2 separate regions of the Homo sapiens genome follow, and region 2 is linked to region 1. The links are contacts of gene promoters, found by promoter capture Hi-C in human tissues and cell types (Jung and others, 2019). All regions are on one chromosome and are shown on one strand. The core of a region is centred on a gene start or on the middle of the fragment in contact, and the rest is flanking DNA. Distances in the headings are between cores, read along the strand shown.

Region 1 (3,498 bases), core at 739-3,238:
GGGGACAATCCCACAGAGGCCAACACAGAGAGCATTCTCCAAGCCCAGCAACACCGAAGTCCAACCACGCACACTCTGCCAGACAGCGACCCCTCCTCCCGGAACTGAGCCTCACAGGCCCCCTATTGTTGTCAGCTTAAAAACTGAACTTTGCTGAGCAAACACACTCAGCTGTGTTCAAAAAATCAGTTTCTCTCAATACTTGGAAAACTGCAGCATGCATGCAGAAAGGCCAGTTGTAGGGGGTTTTGTTTGTTTTTTAAGCAAAGCCTTGGTCAGTACAGCTTTAGCCAACTGTAATAAAAAATAATAATACCCAGCACTGACTGTATTCTTCCAATGTCCTGTGGTTTTATAGCTTTTAAGAAAATAAAACTGAGGGAGAGTCACCCCCGAGCATTTGGAATCAAACAAGGATTCGGCTTTGTGGCATGCCTGGAGGAAGGATTGGTCTTGTAATAATTACCGCGATCACAGAGGGCCTTATGACAGCTGGCAGAGGCAATTAGCAATAAGGGGCGGGGGGAGGGTTTGGGGGAGGAGAAATTGAGGATCTAATAAAACAAAACATCCCCAGACCTGCAGGAGGCCAGATGTGGCAGGGCAAGATGGTGAGAGGTTCCTTCTTCAAGACGGGGCAGCTATTAACTGGTCTGACGTTTCACCGCCCCGTCCCTGGCCAAAATCACATTCAGAATCCACTAGTTGCCCTCATTTGTGTATGGACAGGGTGCCCCAACAACCCTCGGGCTGGTTTTTCCAAATCCTTCAGATACTTCCCCAGCTATAATTTGAGAGAGGAAGGCCCGCATATCTTATTTCTTCTTTACACTCCAGACTGTCTCCATCAGAACCCTTTAAACAGTTTCATCTTCCCACCAAAGGCTTGCTTCCCAGCATAATCCTTCCTAAGCCTAAATCCAATCTTTGGGGGGAAGCAGGGGGAGTCAGCGGGTAATTATTAATACATTTTAAGCAGCGAGCCTCCGTGGCAACGTGAAAGGAAAGCACCAAACGCCTGAATAACAAAAATGCAGTTTCAGCAACACTTTTTGAAAAGGCGGCAGACAAGACCTGAGAGGAGAGGAAAGGAAGGGACAGGACGGCGTCTGGGGCGTGAGGGGAACAGGGGACGGCAGGCCTGCGATCACGCTTCAGGGGAACCTCCTCCGTCACCCTGGCCCACGGGTGCTCGGCTCAGTCACACGGGGAAAAGTCCAGCTTGTGACTCGGTGGGACAACGAGTCCTGCGGCCCCGCAAACTGGAAATGGGGTGGGGGCGGAGAAGGGGGGAAAGGGGATGTCCGCGCGCAGCCCACCCCGCACGGGCCCCTCGAGCCTCCATCCCAGTTCCCACGACGCACCCGCCCCACAAATCCTGCCCAAGATGAGGGCTGGTCCCGGGTCCTCCGGCTGCCGCATCAGCGAGTGCAGGAGGGAGGGGAAGCCTCCAAGGGGGGCGACGCGGGCTCAAGGATGCAACTCGGCCAGGAGTACTGGGGCCCGGAGGGAGGTGTCCGGGCCCGCTCCTCGAGCCCAGCCTGGTCCCCGACCCACTTACCTCCAGGGTCCGTATCTCCTGCTGGGTGAGGTCGTTGGACACAGCGCACTTGGTGCGCAGCCCGCGCAGGCTGCCGATGGAGATGTCGATGAGCTTCTGGAGCTGCCCGCACTGCTGCAGCGCCCGGCTGGCCGCGGCCCCTGCGCCTCCCTCCGCGGCCGCCGCATCCCCCCCGCCACCGCCCTCCTTCTTCTCTCCCATCGCCGCCGCGCGCAGCGCTGCTCTATCCATGCCTCGGCATCGGGGCCGCGGCGGCCGAGGCTGGGAGCCCGGGGCGCGGGCGCCTCGGCAAGGAACCCCCGAGCCAGGAGAGCTGGACCAGGAGCGCCCCTCGGCGCTGCCCGAGCCGGGACGCCGGTAGAGCCGGCCGCTGAGTCTGCCGCTTCCACCCTCCCAGCCGCGGCAGCAAAGCGAAAGCCGCGGCGACCCGACGGCTGCGGCTCCCGGAGCCTTTAAGCGGCGGCGGGGGCTGGGTCAGGGCGGCCGGGCATGCTGGGACTTGTAGTCCACGCCGCGCACCTGCCGCCGGCCTCCGCCCTCGGGGCCCCGGACCGCGCCCGCGCCGCCCTCCCTGCCCTCCTCTCCCCTCCCCTCCCGGCGGCCGCGGCGAGGCAGGCGGTGAGGGCCGGCCCCAACCGGGAGCCCCGGGTGGAGCTGCTCCGCGCCAGCTCCTCCCCCAGGCGCCGAGAGTCGGGGGAGCAGCGTCTCCCCGTCCGCCTCCGTCCCCCACCCGGCCTAGGAGCTTCCCGCGACCCCCGGATGGGGCGGCGCCCCCTGGACGCCCGGCGGGTGTGCGTCCCGCAGTTCCTCAGCTGCAGCCCAGCCCTGGAAGATGGGGACCAGGGAGGTTCCAGGATTTGTATGTGGGTTTAGGGGCTGCCATCTAGTGGGAAGGGGCTTACAGCACTTCTGTAGCTGGCTCACAAAGCGCTCTACTCTGGACTGCCTGCGCCAAAACGATTGCTCAGGCTTGGAGAAAGACGAAGAGCTTTCTTCTGAACCACATTTACCTGCCAAAATAAGTGTCCCATTCCCCCGCCATTCCCAGCCCACCAAGCCAGCCCAGACACGGGGGACAGCACACTGAATTGTCGGTGGCTTCGGAGCAAGTGGCCAGGATTCAAATTCTGACTCCACCACGGTCTAGGGTGAGACTTTGGGCACGTTCGATTTCCAGTGAATGCCCGACTCTCCTCATCAAATAACTCTTTAATAGGGTTCCTATGAAGAATCAGTTAATACATGTACAGCACCTAGATTGATTACTGGCACATGTGGTCGCTGGATAAATGTTAGCAATTCTTACTATCTAACCTCAGATCTGAATGTGGCCCTGGACCCAGGTAGTGGCCATGGAGCAGTACAGTACTGCCAAGGACTGGTAGTCCTTTGTCCTCTGTGCATTTCTGTGCCTCCTAACCCAGCAATCAAGCCTTGCCCATCTGTTCACCCTCCTCTCCCATTAGTTCACCCCATGCGTTCTATTATCTGGCAAAACTGAAAAACCAAGTCTCTGATCAAAGCTCCCACACCTTCATGCTTTCGACATCTGTCAACCAGAAAAAATGTCTCCCCTCTCAATTTTCTCTTGTAAGCTGCTTGATTGCAGAAGCCACTAGCTATTGTACCCTCTTTATAGTGCCAGATACAGTGCATGGCACACAAGAAAGGCTCCAGCGTGCCTCAGGAGCTCTTTCAGCAGGTCCTATGGGATGTTTCTTTTACCTCTCAGGCCAGCCGAGGGTGTGTGTGTGTGTGTAGATAGACAGTTGTTTTTTTGGTTTTGTTTTTGTGTTTGAGGATGAGAATTGGACAGGAGGTGGGATCCAAACCTTGTAGACACTAAAACAATCAATAATGGATGGCAGTTTGTATTACACCTTCCTTTAATGTTTATATTACACCAGCCTTCGAAATAAATTAAGGGCTGGGCACCG
Region 2 (3,498 bases), core at 545-3,044, 160 kb before region 1:
AAGAGTCAGCAGAACAGCTGTCCCGACTGCCCCCAGAGCAAAGCCCTTCTTGCTGTGGCATTTTGCTGCCTACTCTCAGGATCCACATGTGTACCAGCACGGCCCTGCAGCCTTCTGATTCAGAGCTGCCTGTGAGGAAAGGCCTATTTCTTGCACATACGACCAGGCAGGACACATACACCCACACAGACTCAGCAACTCAGGCTTTTGCTCTTAAATACAACTGGACCCCATGGGGTTGCCTGCCGTATCAGGAAAACCAGAGAGAGATCAAAGATAAGCAGATCAAGATACTGTCTCTGGAGGATATGGGGTGTACATGTGTGTGTGTGTACATTTGTGTGAAGCAGCTGCTCTATCCATAAAACAAGACCAGGCTGCAATAAAAAAGAAATCAACAAATAAGAAAGTGCTTGAAATGAAAATATAATTTCTGAACTGAAACATTAAAAGTGCTGGAAGATAAAAATCAAGGAAATCCCCCAGACTGTAGGCTCAATTCTAGAAAGGGATGGAAAATACAAAAGAAGGTAAGAGAAATGTAGGCTCACTAAGAAGAACCAAATTCTGTCTAATGGGGATTTCCACAAAAGTAAACAGACTATTGGGCAGGAAATTATCAAAGAAATAATAAAAGAAAATTTACCAGAAGCTTTCAAAGGTAGCAGCTGTCTTCAGCTGAAAAGGTCCAATAAAGGGACCTCACTAAAAACAGTTAAAAAACAAACAAACACACAAAAAAACTCTACCCTCAGATATATGTTTATGAAATTTCACTATAGCAGGCATAAACAGAAAATCCTAGATGCTTCCAGAAAGAGTAAGATAGGCATCCACAAATGGTTGAGAATCAGACCAACACCAGACTTCTCAACAAGGCACTGGACACTTAGTAGACAGCAGGGCAAAATCCCTGTGTTCTCAGGGAAAATTATTATGAATCTGGAATTCTACTCCTGATATGAGGATGAAATAATAACTATTTTAGGCATGCAAGGATTCAAAGATTATCTCCCATTCTTCCACTGGGAGGCAGTTTTTTCAGGTTTCACTCGCAGTTTATTTGCTGGAGTGCAAATAAAGAGAGGGCACGATATGAGACATAAAGAATAGTGCAACTGACCCAGGAGTGAATGAAAAGAAAACAGAAGGGTAACAGCTGTGCAGCAGGCCTAATATCCCATTGATTCCAACGACAAGAAACCAGTGGACTCTGAAAAGAATGTAACAGATTCCATTTAGGAAGCAGAATGCAGAAGCTGAAAGACCTCAGGAATATGAGAAAGGTGTTTGTTTCTTCTCTCAGCAATAAGAAAAGGCAAGAAGGAAAAAAGAAGGCAATTAGAAACTACAGGAAAAACCTAAACTGCACAAGAAAGCCATGGTCCAAATGTGAAGCCAACAAAATTGTGAGCCTTTGAGTAATTGATGAAGTGGAAGAGATGGACCCACAAAGAAAATGTAATCCCAGTGAATCATCTGACCAGTGGCTAATACCACTTACAGTCTACTATAGTAGTGTATACACTGTTCATCATCTTTTCACTTTCAGCCTCCATCAACAGGCACAGCATGGAAGATTTAATCATGGCAACCTTAACAATAAGTAATGGGAGAGCTGACCAAAGTGGTGCAGCAGAAATAACGGAGTGCCAGAGTGAAAAGCTGATAGACCCAGGTGATGCCTTTGGAGAATGATCTAGGGTGAGGGACTGCTGGTTTTCATTAAGAACCCTCTGGTCTTTTGATGTCTTCCCATATGCATGGACCCTTAAATACAATGATTAATAACTCACTGGCTGCCTCAGCACATAAAGCAGTGCCTGGTGGTGAACTATACAGCAGTGTGGCTGGAGAGACAGAGAAAGGCATCACTCAGAGGGCACTCCCAGCTTTTGTCTATGACAGAAAATAATTTTATTGCGTTGACCAATGTTCCCCTACCCCTAATAGCAATGTGTTAAAAAGGGAAGGCAAGACTGGACAAAAGAAAGGGAACTCCTGTGAGCCACAAGCTGCTGCCGGAGCATCTGCTCTCTCCCCACTCCCCACGCCCTGATCCCACACTGGTCTCAAAACAACCATCACCCCGCACTAAAAGAAATCCTTCCAATTAGTTCAGAACTCTGGCTGTGCTCTAGAATGATCTGAGGAGCTTTATTTAAAAATAAAAAATAAAAAAACTATGATCTTATTCCCATCCCAGGCCAATTTAATTGGTACCTCTGTGGGGGAGGCCTTAACCCTGGCATTTTTATAAAGCTCCCAGATGATTCCAACTTGCAGCCAGTGCCGAGCCTTGACTCCCTTGCAGCCCTTTGCTCAGCTCTGCTCCAGCCTTTGCCTCCCTGAAGATGGCACTTACCATTCTCTGCTCCAAGATGCTAAGTATGCAGAAAGGAAACAAACTGTTGCCAGGAGGGCAGAACGAAGAATATCTTTTCTCTCAGATGCAACAAATATACATAATACTCTGGTTTATACAAAGATGTCCTTGCTAACTCTTGTAAAGAGAGGTTAAAACTGGAAAGAATCCCCATGTCCAGTGACAGAAGTAGTTACATTATGGTGCGGCCACAGGACATAAGGGCAGACAGTCTTAACAATAAGGATTTGTTAATGATTTGAGGTAATGAGCATAATAAAATGTCATGTGGAAAAAGTCACAATAAAAAAATCAGCTAGGTTTTATGATATGTATGTCTTAAATATTTTTTTAAAAGACTATGCCAGGCATGGGGGCTCATGCCTGTAATCCCAGCACTTTGGGAGGCTGAGGCAGATGGATCCCTTGAGGCCAGGAGTTTGAGACCAGCTTGGCCAACATGGTGAAACCCCATCTCTACTAAAAATACAAAAATTAGCTGGATATTTTGGTGCATGCTTGTAATCCCAGCTACTTGGAGGCTGAGGCGGGAGATCACTTGAACCTGGGAAGCAGAGGTTGCAGTGAGCCAAGATCGTGCCACTGCACTTCAGCCTGGGCGACAGAGCAAAACTGCTTCAAAAAAAATTTAAAAAGACTGGAAAGCAGTGGTTACTTCAGCTGCCATCTGAGCTGCCCCAGAGCTCAGCCAAGGAGGCTGCAGCCACAGCCAGGAGCCCAAAACCTGTATCTTGAGCCCACTGACAGTTGCAGGAGGCAGATAAAGAAGGGTCCCTGGAGAACCTCCATCCTGCCCCACAAGTGTTTACAACAGATGTTTTTGTGCAGATGAGGGAACCTGCACAGGGTCTTGCCTGGGTACACCCACAATGGACTGGAGACCCACATGCACTGGGGGAATAGGGTGGAGCCACCAGGAATTCGCGCCTTATGCAGGGGAGGAGCCTGGCCTCTTCAGCTCGTGTGTGGTGGCCTGATATTCAATCTGTGAGATGGGAGCCTGTTGGGAGGACCCCCTCTTTTTTGCTGAGAGGTTTCTTTTAATGAATTCCACTCTCCTCACCTTTCAATGTGTCCGCATGCCTAATTTTTCCTGGTCATGAGACAAGAAC

Evidence for each region. The method cuts DNA at HindIII sites, captures the fragments that hold promoters and counts their contacts. A contact is called where the count stands out against the background at its distance.
Region 2: a fragment that was not itself captured here is called in contact with the fragment with the promoter of KSR1 in region 1 in 4 of the 25 tissues and cell types used here (hippocampus, neural progenitor cells, small bowel and 1 more).

The regions. Positions count from the first base shown.
Region 1 is chr17:27,454,938-27,458,435 of GRCh38, reverse strand. KSR1 (kinase suppressor of ras 1) reads right to left here and starts at 1,988. Exons shown (of 21, transcript NM_001394583.1): 1 at 1,562-1,988. The coding sequence starts at 1,792. RefSeq lists silencers at 1,129-1,178, 1,699-2,458 and an enhancer at 1,822-2,323. The HindIII fragment of the contact is 18,960 bases long and covers 1-3,498 here.
Region 2 is chr17:27,613,331-27,616,828 of GRCh38, reverse strand. The region is part of intron 18 of KSR1 (kinase suppressor of ras 1); the gene reads right to left. Among named protein-coding and RNA genes, the nearest start is that of LGALS9, 16 kb to the left of the region's middle. The HindIII fragment of the contact is 8,988 bases long and covers 1-3,498 here.